Linked DNA regions of Homo sapiens: region 1 is linked to region 2. The links are contacts of gene promoters, found by promoter capture Hi-C in blood cells and fetal thymus (Javierre and others, 2016). All regions are on one chromosome and are shown on one strand. The core of a region is centred on a gene start or on the middle of the fragment in contact, and the rest is flanking DNA. Distances in the headings are between cores, read along the strand shown.

What was found. Contacts are between HindIII fragments. The CHiCAGO score rates a contact against its expected background, and 5 or more counts as called.
Region 1: a fragment that was not itself captured here is called in contact with the fragment with the promoter of NFAM1 in region 2 in 7 of 17 cell types (activated CD4 T cells, non-activated CD4 T cells, total CD8 T cells and 4 more); the score reaches 10.4 in activated CD4 T cells.

What each region holds. Positions count from the first base shown.
Region 1 is chr22:42,019,052-42,026,537 of GRCh38, reverse strand. WBP2NL (WBP2 N-terminal like) reads right to left here. Exons shown (of 6, transcript NM_152613.3): 2 at 7,119-7,227; 3 at 6,735-6,876; 4 at 6,442-6,534; 5 at 4,182-4,289. Among named protein-coding and RNA genes, the nearest start is that of WBP2NL, 24 kb to the right of the region's middle. The HindIII fragment of the contact is 8,673 bases long and covers 1,276-7,486 here.
Region 2 is chr22:42,426,892-42,434,323 of GRCh38, reverse strand. It overlaps NFAM1 (NFAT activating protein with ITAM motif 1), which reads left to right and starts at 1,921. Exons shown (of 6, transcript NM_145912.8): 1 at 1,921-2,087. The coding sequence starts at 1,967. The HindIII fragment of the contact is 8,354 bases long and covers 1,294-7,432 here.

The DNA of each region.
Region 1 (7,486 bases), core at 4,363-6,862, 410 kb after region 2:
TTACTTATACTCTTGCACAGATATGTGTTTTACTTAATAAAGTTTGATTATGAAAAAAAGTAATACATGCTTAATGAGGAATATGCGTTTGGAAAATAGAGAAAAGAGGAATGGAAAAAAGCCATCTATAATTCTACCATTGAACACTTACTATTTTGGTGTATTTCTTTGTAGAATCTCTGTGAATATTCTTTATATAATCATGATCATATCAGCCATATTATTATTATTATTATTATTATTATTATTATTATTATTATTATTTTGAGAGGGGGTCTCGCTCTGTTGCCCAGGCTGGAGTGCAGTGGCGCGATCTTGGCTCACTGCAAGCTCTGCCTCCTGGGTTCATGCCATTCTCCCACCTCAGCCTCCCGAGTAGCTGGGACTACAAGCACCCGCCACCATGCCCAGCTAATTTTTTTGTATTTTTAGTAGAGACAGGGTTTCACCATGTTAGCCAGGATGGTCTCGATCTCCTGACCTCATGATCCACCCGCCTCGGCCTCCCAAAGTGCTGGGATTACAGGCGTGAGCCACTGCGCCCGGCCAGCCATATGATTTTTTAAATCTGGCTCTTTTACTTAATATTATAAGAAATGTCTTCATATTGTTAATTTACTTCATAAATTCAAAGCTGGATAATATTTCATCATATGGATAGATGACTCTTTTTGTTGTTTCTGACTTTCCAATTAACCTTACAATAAACATGAGTTTTACTTATTACCTTGGGTTACATTCCCCAAAGTGATTTAACTGGATAAAGTGAATGGACAGCTGTAAAGTTATTTTGCTTTAATCCAAAATTTATTACAAAACTACTGTAATCAAGACAGTGTTTTACTGGCACAAGGACAGACTTAGAGACCAATGGAATGAATTAAGAGTCCAGAAATAAACCCAAGCATCTATGAACAGTTGATTTTTGACAGAATGCCAAGACCATTCAATGGGAAAAAAACAGTCTCTTCAAAAAATGATTCTGGGACAACTGGATATCTGCACGTAAAAGAATGAGGTTCTTCCCTCACTTCACTCTACAGATAAAAATTAACTTGTAGTGAATCAATGGCCTTAATATAAAACAGAGGTGGCCAATCTTTTGGCTTCCCTGGGCCACATTGGTGAAGAATTGTCTTGGGCCACATATAAAATATACTAACACTAACGATAGCTGATGAGCTATTTTTAAAAATCTCATAACATTTGAAGAAAGTTTATGAATTTGTGTTGGGCTGCATTCAAAGCCATCCTGGGCCATGGGTTGGACAAGCTTGATATAAGAGCTAAAACTATAAAATGCTTAGAAGAAAACAGGGATAAATCTTCATGACATTGGATTTGGCAACGAATTCTCACATTTTACATCAAAAGCATGAGCAACAAGAGGAAAAAAGAGAAATCTGATAAAAATTAAAAACCTTTGTGCATTAAAAGCCATTTTTGCCTGGGCACAGTTGTTCACACCTGTAACCCACTGGCCGAGGCAGGCAGATCATTTGAGCTCAGGAGTTCTAGATGAGTCTGAACAACATGGTGAAACTACATCTCTACTAAAAATACAAAGATTAGCTGTGCAGGGTGGCACACACCCGCAGTCCCAGCTATTCAGGAGGCTGAGGCACAAGAATCACTTAAACCCGGGAGGCAGAGATTGCAGTGAGCCAAGATGGCGCCACTGCACTCCAGCCTGGGTGACAGAGGGAGACTTTGTCTCAAAAAAAAAAAAAAAAAGTCATTATCAAGAATGTGAAAGAAAACCTAAAAATATTTACAAATAATATATCTGACAAGGATTTCATATCCAGACTATATAAAGAATGCTTACAACTCAACAACAAAAAGACAAGCAATCCGATTTAAATAATAAAAAAAATAGGCAAAAGACTTGGACAGTTCTCCAATTAAGGTATATAAAAAGCACATTAAAAGATGTTCAACATCATTAGTCATTAAGGAAATGCAAATTAAAACCACAATGAGATACCACTTCATACCCACTAGAATGGCTTTAATATAGATTTTTTTTTTTAAAAAAAGGAAGATAAGTGTTGCTGAGGATGTGTAGAAATAGGAACACTTACATTTACACAGGAATGTAAAATAGTGCAGCACTGGAAAATAGTTGGTGGTTCCTCAAAAAGTTAGAGAATTTACATATGACCCAGAAATTCCACTCCAAGATGCATATCCAGGAGAAATGAAAACATATGTCTACGTAGAAAATTATATACAAATGCTCATAGCAGCTAGTATTCGTAATAGCCAAAAGGTGGAAACAAGACAAATGTCCATCAATGGAGGAATGAATACACAAATTGTGGTATATATGTACAATGGAGTATTATTCAGCCAGGAAAAGAAATGAAGTATTGCTACATGCTACAACTTGGAGGAACCTCAAAAACGTTATCTTGAGTGAGATAAGCCAAACACAAAAGGTCACATATTGTATGATTTCTTTTATGTGATATATTCACAATAGGTGAATCAATAAAGACAGAAAGCAGATTAGAGGATACCAGGGGATCAGAGAGGGGACAATGGGGAATAACTTCTTAGTGGCTATTAGGTGATAAAAAGTTTTGAAACCAGACCAGATGCTGTGGCTTACACCTGTAATCCCAGCACTTTGGGAAGCCAAGGCAATAGACTTGCTTGAGCCCAGGAGTGTGAGACCAGCCTAAGCAACACAGTGAGACCCTGTATCTACAAAATTTTTTTAAAAAAAAAGGCTGGCAGGGGCTGGGTGTGGTGGCTCAAGCCTGTAATCCCAGCACTTTGGGAGGCTGAGGCGGGCGGATCACAAGGTCAGGAGATCGAGACCATCCTGGCTAACACAGTGAAATCCCGTCTCTACTAAAAATACAAAAAAAAAATTAGCCGGGCGTGGTGGCGGGCGCCGGTAGTCCCAGCTACTCAGGAGGCTGAGGCAGGAGAATGGCGTGAACCCGGGAGGTGGAGCTTGCATCGCGCCACTGCACTCCAGCCTGGGCGACAGAGCAAGACTCCCTCTCAAAAAAACAAAAACAAAAACAAAAAAGGCTGCCAGAGATGGCTCATGCCTATAATCCCAGCACCTCGGGAGGGCAAGGCGGGCAGATGGCTGGAGGCCAGGAGTTCAGAACCAGCCTGGACAACATAGGGAGATTTCTGTCTCTACAAAAACACATAAAAATTAGCCGGGCATGGTGGATTGCGCCTGTGGTCCTAGCCTACTCTGGTTGGGGGGTACTGAGGTAAGAGGATCGCTTGAGCCCAGGGGGTCGAGGCTGCAGGGGGCCATGATAGTGCCACTGCACTACAGCCTGGGTGACAAAGTGAGACTCTGTCTCCAAAAAAAAAAAACACCACTTTTTGAAACTAGAGACAGCTGGTGGATGTATAATATTGTGAATACGTCAAATACTGCTAAATTTTACACTAAATACCACTGAATTGTACACATTAAAATGTTAATTATATGTTATGTGAATTTCACCAACTGAAAAAATGTTAAACCCTAGCAACAATTACTTTAGATTCTGAATATTAGACTGTAATAACCTTTAAAAACCAAGGTACCTATTAAGGTTACAAATAAGTAGCCTTTAAGTTACATACAAAACTAAAGGCCCATGGACATGCATATCAAGTTCCAAGGAGAACTCAAGAAAAGTCCCATATTTTTGTGTGTGTTGGCAGCATTAGGAGACCCTTGGTGGCCCACCAGTAGGCAGTGGACCATGTTTGAGAATTACTTTCCAGAAACCCCATTCAGTAGCAGTGGACTTTAACAACACAAACTGTTAAAGGACCCAGGGCTCGAGTCCTCAGTAAGGTTGAAGGGTGTGGCACAGGTATGATGACTATGCTATGTGAAATGGAAACAAGGAAGTGGGCAAGAGCATATATTTTCTGCTCAGGCTATAAACAGGAAGTGACCCTTCCCACTAACAGGATTGCCAAGTATGTTCCAGGTTTGTATATATCATTAAAAGTAAGCCTGAAACCAAAGCCCAGTCACTTGCTGACTTTGCCACTGGGTTTCAGTCTGGAAACAAAGTCACAGATGTGACCATTTTCCAAGCCCCTAAAGCTCTGCTGCTGCTCCTGCAGGGAGCAAGCCTGCAAGGGATAGATCTTTGAGCCTCTGGCATAATTTTCCACCTTCCAGGAAGAACCTCTCTGCCATACCTTACCTGAACAAGGCATCTGTGGAGTGCACATATTCCCTTCCCCAGTAATTACATAAATTCCCATAGAGCTGAACCAGTCATTTAAGGTTCTAAGTGGAAATCCTCGGGCAGCTGGAAAGACAAATTTGGCAAAATAGGAACTCTTTTAATTAAGTCAGATATATAGCAGATATCAACTAAACAATTAACAGAGTATTTAATCACCACCTTACATGTGTTTCCAACAATGCTCTTGAGACACAAGATAAAAAAGAAACATGGGCTGGGTGAAGTGGCTCACACCTGTAATCCCAACATTTTAGGAGGCCAAGATGGGAGGATTGCTTGACCCCAGGAGTTCAAGACCAGCCTGGGCAACATGGCAAGACCCTATCTCTACAAAAAATTTTTTAAAAATTAGCCAGGCATGGTGGTGCATGCCTGTGGTCCTAGCTACTCAGGAAGCTGAGGCAGGAGGATTGCTTGAGCCTGGAAATTTGAGGCTGCAGTGAGCCTTATCTGTGCCACTGCACTGGAGCCTCCAGCCTGGGTGACAGAGTAAGACCTTGTCTCAAAAAAAAAAAAAAAAAAGAAAGAAAGAAAAGAAATATGACCCTTGTCCTGAATGGCACGTGTCTTAAGGGCAGAGATTGTATCTCATTTGCCTGTGCTTATTCCAGGCCTAGCATAGCACCTAATCATAACAGATATTCAGAAAAAACTTCTAAGTGAGGATTCTACCAAGTTGGTAAGATATATCCATTAAAGACCAATGTGAGGAAGTGTGGTACCGAAGAAAACACTTTTGTCTTGTCTCCCCTCTGCATCTCTCTTATAAGAACACTTGTGATGGCATTTAGAGGCCACCTAAATAATCTAGGGTAATCTTGTCATCTCAAGATCCTTAAATTAATTACGTCTACAAACACCCTTTTTACAAATAACGTAACAGTCACAGATTCTGAGGATTGGGATGGGGATATATCTGGGGATCCATTATCAGCCTACCACACTGAGTTTTGCCTATGGCATGTGACCAGATGTAATGTAGACAGTTTCCAGGCCTGGCCCATAAAAATTTCCCAGGGGAGATCTTTATTTCCTTCTCTGCTGGCTGTACAAAGAGGCCATGGAAGCCATGGGTTAAAGATCGCAAGGACCGGCCAGGCGTGCTGGCTCACGCCTGTGATCCCAGCACTTTGGGAGGCTGAGGCAGGTGGATCTCCTGAGGTCAGGAGTTCGAGACCAGCCTGACCAACATGGTGAAACCCCGTCTCTACTAAAAATACAAAAATTAGCTGGGCTTGGTGGTGGACACTTGTAATCCCAGCTACTTGGGAGGCTGAGGGAGGAGAATCACTTGAACCCGGGAGGTGGAGGTTGCAGTGAGCCAAGATTGCATGATTGCACTCCAGCCTGGGTGACAAAGCAAGACACTGTCTCAAAAAAAAAAAAAAAAAAAAAAAAAAAAATATATATATATATATATATATATATATATATATATATATACACACACACACACACATATATGAGATAAAAAAATTATTTGTAGTCACAGTTTGAAAGAGTTCTGTGGTACATCCATTAGATCAGTGCTATAAGTCTTGACAGTACCTCTACTCCCCTCTCATGTAAGATGGGGACTAAACCTGAGAAAAGCAAAGGCAAGTCCAGAGAGAAGAAAAACTAAAAAGCCACACCAAAGAAAGAATAACTAAGGGCTCCCTGACCCAAGGAAGAGACGCTCAGTAGATATCTGAGGTCAGTGTTTAAATGGACAAAAGACTATCAGGTATAATTAGTCACCTGGGTGTCTGGCTGTAAGCTCCCACTAGATTGCAAGCTCCTTCAGGATAGGAAGGGACTGAATAATCTTTGTGTTCCTACCCTGTAACATGGTACTTGACAATTGTAGGTAGGCCCAGGAAATGCCTGCTGAATATGTGTGCGAATACCAACTGCCTGGCCACAAAGGCCAGCAAATCTTGGCTGAGTAGAAGTCCTGCTTTAATTCCACAAGCCTTAAAACCCCAAAGTGGGCTGGGCATGGTGGCTCATACCTGTAACCCCAGCACTTCGGGAGGCTGAGGCAAGAGGATCATTTGAGTTCAGGAGTTCGAGACCAGCCTGGGCAACATGGTGAAACCCCGACTTACAAAAATACAAAAATCCCTGTCTCAAAAACAACAAAACAACAACAACAGCAACAACAACAACAAAAAACCCAAACAAACAAACAAAAAACCCCAAAGTGCTTAATATCTTTATCAGCATCACTTACCAGCAGAGGCAGCTTTCACCATCAACTGGGCAAATTCAATGGCATCTCCATTTCTGAAGACTAATTTAAAAGTAGCTTGTCCTTCCCAGCCACCTGGGGGAAGAAATGGCACACACTCACCAAGAAACTGGCATAGCTGACAACAGAAAGACTGCCACAAACACCAAGGGAAGCACTACCTGACAAAGTAGGGCAGCTTTTGTTTGAATTTCAACATGAGCCAAGTTTGAATCTTAAACCTTTTAGAAGATTTTGAGGGAAAAAAAAATACACACTTCTGAGGGAACACTTACCATATGGAGCTGCCTGAATAGTTCCCTTAATGAAGTTTGCAGCAAATACTGGTTGTTCAACAGTGAGGTTCGTCATCAGATCAAATGGCATCATAAAAGACAACATGGGATCACTGATGGAGCATGAAGTTATGAAAATCACCTACGCAAGGACAGAAACTTTGGAAAAGGAATGCAGAATTTGTCCATGGATTGAGACTTACAAGAGCAAGGTGCATTCTGGTCTAACTGAGAAACATCATCTTTTCTTCCACCACCCTTCAGTGTGGAAAATCCCAAAGCGCACGTTTAAAAACACTTCAAAAGTCAATGTTTAAGTTTTCTTCATTTCAAGGAAAACAAATGTAGAGTTAATCAGCAGATTAAAGTAGAAGTAGAAATTACCCGGTATGAAGTGAGAAACAATGTTCCTGTCTTTCTACCACTAAAGACATTTGAGCCTTCTGATCGCTGTGGGAAGGAGAGCTCCACATTCGGAGACCGCTTCAAGAGACTGTAGAAAATGAGGAACAGACGGCACACAATAAAGAATGTATGTAAAATGACACACATAAAGTTCTTAACGCAATTTTTTTTTTTTTTTGAGACAGAGTCTTACTCTGTTGCCCAGGCGGGAGTGCAGTGGCACGATTTCACCTCACTGCAAGCTCCGCCTCCCGGGTTCACACCATTCTCCTGCCTCAGCCTCCCAAATAGCTGGGACTACAGGCGCCCGCCACCATGCCTGCCTAATTTTTTTGTATTTTTGTAGA
Region 2 (7,432 bases), core at 672-3,171:
GTGTTGGGCACCTGCCTTCATATCAAGCCTGGAGGAAGGCTTCTCCCTGCCTTATGCTCACCCATCCGTCCATTCCTGCACCCCCTGGGCCAGGCTCAAGAAGGAGAGGGGAGGAAGACAGGCAGCTCAGGCAGGCAAGCGTGGAAACCAGGTGTGCAGCAGGCTAGACCCAGACTCAGAGGCGGCAGAACTCCCGGGAGTCCGAGGTACAGAGTTGGGGTGTGGGGGGCACCGTGACAGGCTGAGAGGTAGGGTCAGTGAGCTGGCACAGGGGCAGGAGCGGAGGCGGCACCAGGGCTGGAAGAGCAGGCTCCCTTGTTCCGAGGCAGTTTGGCATTCAGCTGCCTCCCAGTGCCAAGTCGTAATGAGACTTGTAGAGGCACAGACCGATGCTTTTCCAATGCTCCCCGTGTACCCTGAGGCATTGACACGAGGTCTATCACCATGGCATCAAGGTGCTTAGACAACCTGCTACTCCCAGGAGCCAGGAATAGCGTGAAGCAGCGGGTCTGCATCTCACTGTGACATATGTGAGCATGTATCACTGTGATGGATCAACAGTCAATAACACTGGGGTCCCCGCCTGCCCCCTGCGCGGTAGGAAACTTCTCCTGTTCATATGTCTTCCTCCCCTGGTGGGCGGCCCCTGCTCTTGCCAGCCTCCCAGTGCTCGTGGCATTGGTGGAAACGTCTTTAGGCTTTCACTGTTCATGTTTGGAGCAGCCCAGGGAAAAGCATGTGTGCAAAGAACTGAAATGGATCTCATGATGCCGTCACCGGGGGCTGCAGCTGGACACACCTGAGCAGGCAGTAGCAGGGTGGGAGAAGGCTCGGACATCATACCACTGGCAGTTCAAATGCCCGCCCCACAGACCTGCCCTGATCCTAGGCATGTTGTTTTGCCTCCTGGGGCCGAGGTCTTCTCTTTTGTACAACTGGGATCATCACATTTATCTGGTGAGTGAAGGGACACCTGCAGAGAAGGGAGGTAAGCGCTCAGCATGCGCTGAAACTCAGCCACCTTCCCGCCTGCGTCTTCCATGTACCAGGTGCCTCCAGCTCCACCAGCCATCACCACACCCCAGCCCCTTTCCTCTGCCACTCCAGACACGCAGGCAGATGTGTGGGTGCCAAGGGTGAGGGGCTCCCAGTCTGCTGGGGAAGGGGGTCCCGGCAGCAAACAATTCCTGTCCCCGGCTGATGCTGCTAGAAGTGAGAGCAGGGGCTGTGACCTGCAGCCAATGGGGAAGCAGTTCGAGGGTCTCACAGTTGGGAGGCCGAGTGAGCTAAGCTTTAGGGCAGCCACAGGGAGGAGCTGACGTTAGAGATGGACCAGAGAGGAGGCGTCTCCTGGGCCTCTGCAGGGGACCCACAGAGGTTCTCGCTGGGTGAATGATGGGCAGCCTGCCTTTCACCTGCCCTGGGTGTTTGGCCCTCTCTAGGGCTGGGAACATGAGGCTCCTGCCCTTCACCCCAGCCTCCCTACCACCCCTCACCAAAAAACCTACCTTTGGTAAACACATTATTAAGGGATTCTCAGAATATTTTAGAGAAGTTTGTGTGAACATGCTTGTGGTCGTTTTAAAAGTGTTTCAGAAGTGAGAGGCTAAACCAAGGCCCGAAGTCACTCATGGAAATCCCATGATCCCTCTGCACAGTTACCAGTGTCTCCTGGACGGGGCCCCTGCTGGAAAGGGGCCGAGACAGGGTGAAGCCCACCAGGGGTTGGAGTGGGGAGGCTTGGGTCCCGTCTCCAGCTCTTCTTCTGGTTGTGTGGCCTGGACCAGTCTCAGTGCCAGGTTCCTCATCTGGCGGCCACCCTGCTGGGCTGTTCCAGCTTTGCTTCTGAGCGGAAGGTCAGGGGCTGCCAGGGAGGAGCTTCGTGGGGAAAGCAAAGGGGAAGCTGTCAGCGCCGGCCGTCCCCTCCTGTGAACTAAAGAGTCGCCGCAGACAAGCAGGCCCCCAGATGGAGAACCAGCCTGTGAGGTGGCGGGCCCTGCCAGGCCTCCCACGCCCTCCTGGGCTCCCCGCAGCCCCCTGGCTCCTCCTTGGCGTGCTGCTGCTGCCCGGGACCCTGCGACTGGCAGGTAGTGTCTGTCTTCCTCCTTCTCTCTACTCTCTCGCTCCAGAACATCAGAGCGGCTTTCATCCCGCCCGGCGCAGCTAATTCCCAGGGACCTGTCTCTGGGGATTTGCTGGTTGTCGTTTGAACGCTGCAGACTTCACAGGGGAAGCCTTCTGGGACCGAGAAGATGTTTAGCTAATGCCTTGCCAAGGTGGCTTTTGAAGGGGAGGGGGACAGCGCTCTCTCCCTCGCTGCTGTGACAGCTTTGCCCCAGCAGTCTGGCCTCCTGGCCCTTAAACAAGGAGGGTGGGCGCTGTGTGGCTGGGGCCAGGGGCGGGGCAGGGGGGAGGGACAGCTCCCCATCCGAGGAACCTCACGTGGCTGCTGCGGGGGACACTGCGTTGAACCTGGCAAGTGGTGGGGCTACCCTCTGGGTTGTTGCTGGCATTGGCCAGGGAGAGCGGGGAGAGGGGGGAGGGGGGGATACCAGGGCCAGCCACAGGGCTCTGCGCCCAGAGGCACAAAACTGTCAGTCACCAGAAAGGGTCTCACCTCCCAGTTCCTGAAACACAACCAGAGGCCAAGTGTTTTAGGATGCAAGTGTGTCTTTCCACGCCAGCGGCGCTCCTTTCCTGGTTCCAGGCTTTCTTGGAAGCTGGGTGGCCGGGATCCGAGCCAAGCTGTGGGGTAGGTAGCCTCAGGGCCAGTTCATCAGGCCAGGGACGGCCCAGGAGGGTCCCATTCCAGGGCTGCCAGCACGAGGGCTCAGTGAATTCTGCCAGATTCTCTCTGCCCCTCCTTGGCCGGGCAGCAGCCAACCCTCCCTCTGGCCAAAGGGGTGGCCTCCACTGTGGAGACAGGGTGCCTTCCTTTCTATTCTCTTAGTTTATGGGGCTTTCAAGAGCTGCCCCCACCCTGTCCTGCTGCACCCCCTCTCATGACCACAAATTAGGCTTTATGGAGCCCTTAGCAGGGCACGTACTGGCCACCCTCACAGCACCCCTTGGGGCTCCTATTGTCCTCACCTGCACCATTTTAAGGACAGGGAAAAGGAGGCCCAGGGAAGCCAGTTCGTTTGCTCAAGACCTAGCCGGTAAGTAGAGGCCAGCCTCAGCCCCAGGCCAGCCTCAGCCCCAAGCTGGGCCCCTCGGCCAGTAGGCTCAGAGGATCCTCTTACTTGTAAAGAATGTTCTTCACCGGAAACTTACCCTGGGGAGGCAAAGGCTGACCTGTGTGTACCTCCCCAGGCTGCAGCCCAGAGCCCTAGGACACCATCTCCTTTAATCCTGTGCACGCCTCGCCCCACACCCCAGACAGTTGGTGCAAACACGGCCAGACCCCGGAAATGCAGCCTGTTAGTGTCAATGTGTCTCAACTACAGTCATTTTTAATTTAATTTCCCCCCAATTCCCATCCTTTCCCTTTGTGTGGTTCCTCCTCCCCAAAAGACACCCAGCACACCCTGGTAACCGAGCAGTAAGAGGTTTTATGGGGTGCTACTGGGGAAAAGCTCTTTTGTAACAGTCTCAACTATAACAAAACATTCCCAGTGCCACCCCCTCCCACCCGGTATTGCAACAAACATTACATAAAAGAGAAACTGTTCTTTCACAAGAGGTGAAAACACCCTTACGGTGTCCTAGAGTCCCTTGGAGCAGCAGACAAACCCCCACCCATGATTTTTTTTTTTTTTTTTTTTTTTGAGAGTTTCACTCTTGTCACTCAGGCTGAAGTGCAATGGCGCCATCTTGGTTCACGGCAACCTCTGCCTCCTGGGTTCAAGTGATTCTCCTGCCTCAGCCTCACGAGTAGCTGGCACTACAGGTGCCCACCACCATGCCCAGCTAATTTTTGTATTTTTAGTAGAGACAGAGTTTTGCCATGTTGGCCAGGCTGGTCTTGAACTCCTGACCGCAGGTGATCTGCCCGCCTCAGCCTCCCAAAGTGCTGGGATTACAGGCGTGAGCCACTGTGCCCGTCCTGTTTTTATTTTTTTGAGACAGGGTCTCGCTCCGTCCACCAGGCTGGAGTGCAGTGGTGCAATCTCAGCTCACTACAACCTCTGCCTCCCTCACTCAAATGATCCTCCCACCTCAGCCTCCCGAATAACTGGAACCACAGCGTGTGCCACCACACCCAGCTATTTTTTAAATTTTTTCGTAGAGATAGAGACTCACAGTGTTGCCCAGGCTGGTCTCGAACTCCTGACCTCAGGTGATCCACCCGCCTTGGCCTCCCAAAGTGCTGGGATTACAGGCGTGAGCCACTGTGCCCAACCCCCAACCCGCTCTTTGTCCTACCCCTGTGCATCCCCCTTCATCTATCTGTCACTCCATGTCACACCCCTGCCTTCTCGTCTCAGAGCTTTGAGGGTTTGCTGGAAGGAATCTTGCCCCTCCCACATCTTCCAAACCTCCCCTGACCGTAACCATCAGCCTTAACCATCAGCCTGGTGCAACCAGCTCTGCCACCTGTCAGTACCAACCCAGCTTGCATCCCTCAGCTGTGTCCACAGGGGTGTCACTGAAGGCCAGCGTCCCTGATTCTGCATCGTATCCCTGAACTTGCGAGAGGATGCTGGCTTAGGAGTACAGGCCAGGGGCATTCATCTTCAGTTTGATTTTTTATTTATTTATTTATTTTGAGACGGAGTCTCGCTCTGTTGCCCAGGCTGGAGTGCAGTGGCACCATCTCGGCTTACTGCAACCTCCGCCTCCCAGGTTCAAGCGATTCTCCTGCCTCAGCCTCCTGAGTAGCTGGGATTGCAGGCACCCACCACCATGCCTGGCTAATTTCTGTATTTTTAGTAGAGTCAGGTTTTCACCGTGTTGGCCAGGCTGGTCTCGAACTCCTGACCTCAGGTGATCCCCCCACCTTGGCCTCCCAAAGTGCTGGGATTACAGGCGTGAGCCACCGCACCCGGCCCAGTTTGAATTTGAGCTCTGCTACTTGCCCAGGCACCCTGGGCAGATTACTTCTATCGCTATGCCTCAATTGTCTCCTCTGTTAAATGGATGTGATAACACTGCCTGCCTAAACACATCCTGAGGACTGAGTGCCCAGTATGTCATTAGTCCTCAGTGAGTGTCAGCCACCTGCCAGCCTCGCCAGAGCCATGGAAACTTGAGGTGCAGTTGGTGAGCCCACGGCCTCCAGCTCATCCTGGGTACCTGCTCCTGCTCCCAGCCATCCTCCTCCTCCCACTTGAGCCGGGACTTGGGCCTGTCCTCTGGCTTCTTGACCCCTCTGCAAAGCCTGCTTTTCTCAAAGGCAGCCACTGGTGGTCTCCCCAAGACAGGAATTGCTGGGGGCTTGGCTTTTCCAGGAGCAGCTGCAACTCAGCTTCCATGGGCCTCAGTCCTCCCCAAGGACTTTGGGGCTGGACAGACCTGAGTTCCAGGCCTGCCTTCTTCTGGTGACAGCTGTGTGACCTCAGGCAATTACTTAACCTCTCTGCACCTTAGTGTCCTCTGCAAATGTCAGTCCCCTCTCTGTGGCCTTTCCAGAACTCTGGGCTGTATTTATTTCTCACATATCCATTGAAAAGGACCGGTTCTAGGCACCAGAGGGACCCAGACGTGAACAAGCCATAGGCCCCACTCTCAGCCTGGTGGGACCGTGAGCCTTGGCCGGAGTTACCAGACAAGTTTGTTCTGGATCCAGGTGGTGTGCGCCTGTAATCCCAGCTACTCAGGAGGCTGAGGCAGGAGAATTGCTTGAACCTGGGAGGCAGAGGCTGCACTGAGCTGAGATCGTGCCACTGAACTCCAGCCTGGGTGACAGAGCAGGACTCTGTCTCAAAAAAGTAATAATAATAAAAAAAGATGTTCAGGAGCCCCTGCCTGCTCCCGGCTGAGACCTCCTGCCTCCCTTCCCGCCGCTCCGGACCTCTGTCAGGAGTAGCCTCTGTTTTTCATCTTTGTCTAAATCCCAATAAAGGACTTTCGAGGCACAGGCAGAGGTGGGCGGGGAGAGGCAGGGGAGTGCTGGAAAGGCTGCCCGCGGAGTGGGGACAGAGCGGGAGGTGGCTGAGGGAATGAGGGCTGAGAGCCCAAAAGGCAGGGCCAGGAGGGCCGGGAGAGGCTCAGCTTGACGGCAGGGGAAGTCTGACACAGGAGTGGGATGCAGATTGTGGTTGGGTGGATCACAAATGCCCCTCAGGTAGGGGTCCGGGCACACTCCCAGCGGGTCCTGTCTCACTGCTGTCTCCTCTGTCATGGTGAACTATCGCACAAAAACCGCAGTGCTGCGTGGTAAGCACTAGAAAACAAAGTCCTGTGTGACTCTCACCAGGTCAAGAATGAGAACATCCCAGTGCCTCAGAGCCCCTTCTACTCCCCTCGCCCCACAGACACTGCCCCGCTCCGTGCCCCACCAAAGGTACCCCCATCCCAGCTTGTGGGGGGATCACTTACTGGCATTTCTTTGTAGTTTTATCATTAGTACACATCCCGAAACCATATGGACTAGCTTTGCCTGTTTGTGAACTTTGTGTAATTGAAGGATACTGTGTGTATTCTCCGGTGACCCGCTTCTTTCACTGAGCATTATGTTTTTTAAGATAGATCCAGTCCACGATATGGCTGAAGTTCGTTTTGTTGCTATAGATAGAGCAAGAGTTGAAACCACGGCCGGTGGGCTAAACCCAGCCCACTGCCTCTTGTATGGCTTGTGAGTTATGAATGGTTTTTATATTTTTAAGTGGTTGAAAAAATCAAAAGGTACTGTGCGGACTCATGTGGCTTCTAATCCTTGACTCCCAGCACGGGACCAGCACCCAGCAGATGCTCAGGAAATGGTGACAATCAAGGATGAATTAAGCTCTGAGCAGGGTGGAGACGCGATGCCACAGGAGGGGCGCCTGGGGGAGGAGATGGAAGGGCTGGGTAGTCGTCCTCTGCCCTTCCTCTGCCCTCCCTGAGCCCTGGCTCCTCTCCAGCGTTGGTAGGGTAATGAGACCCCCTGTGTAGTGAATGGGAGGGAGGACACAGGCATCCTGGGGAAATGTGGACCCGGAGGCAGGATCTGACCCTCTGCTTGCTCCTTGTGGATCTAAGCAAGGCCATACCCTAGTGGGGACGTGGGCAACAGGACCCAGATGGGGCTGAAACCAGAGAAAGGGACGGGGTGAGCCTGGTGAGAGGGAGGGGAGGGGTATGGACATGAGATTGGCAAGTGGGGCGCCTGGGCTCCTGGTAAGGTCTGAGCAGGCTGGATTTGGGTCCTGGGAGCCTTTGGCCAAGTCTCTGGAGTACGCTGAACCTCCACGAGCCCCCCCGCCTGGGTGCTCAGCATCCTCCCAGACAGCAATAGGAAGGTACATCCAGTACCATGATGGCCTCAGGGCGTGGCACCTGGGACCCCTCA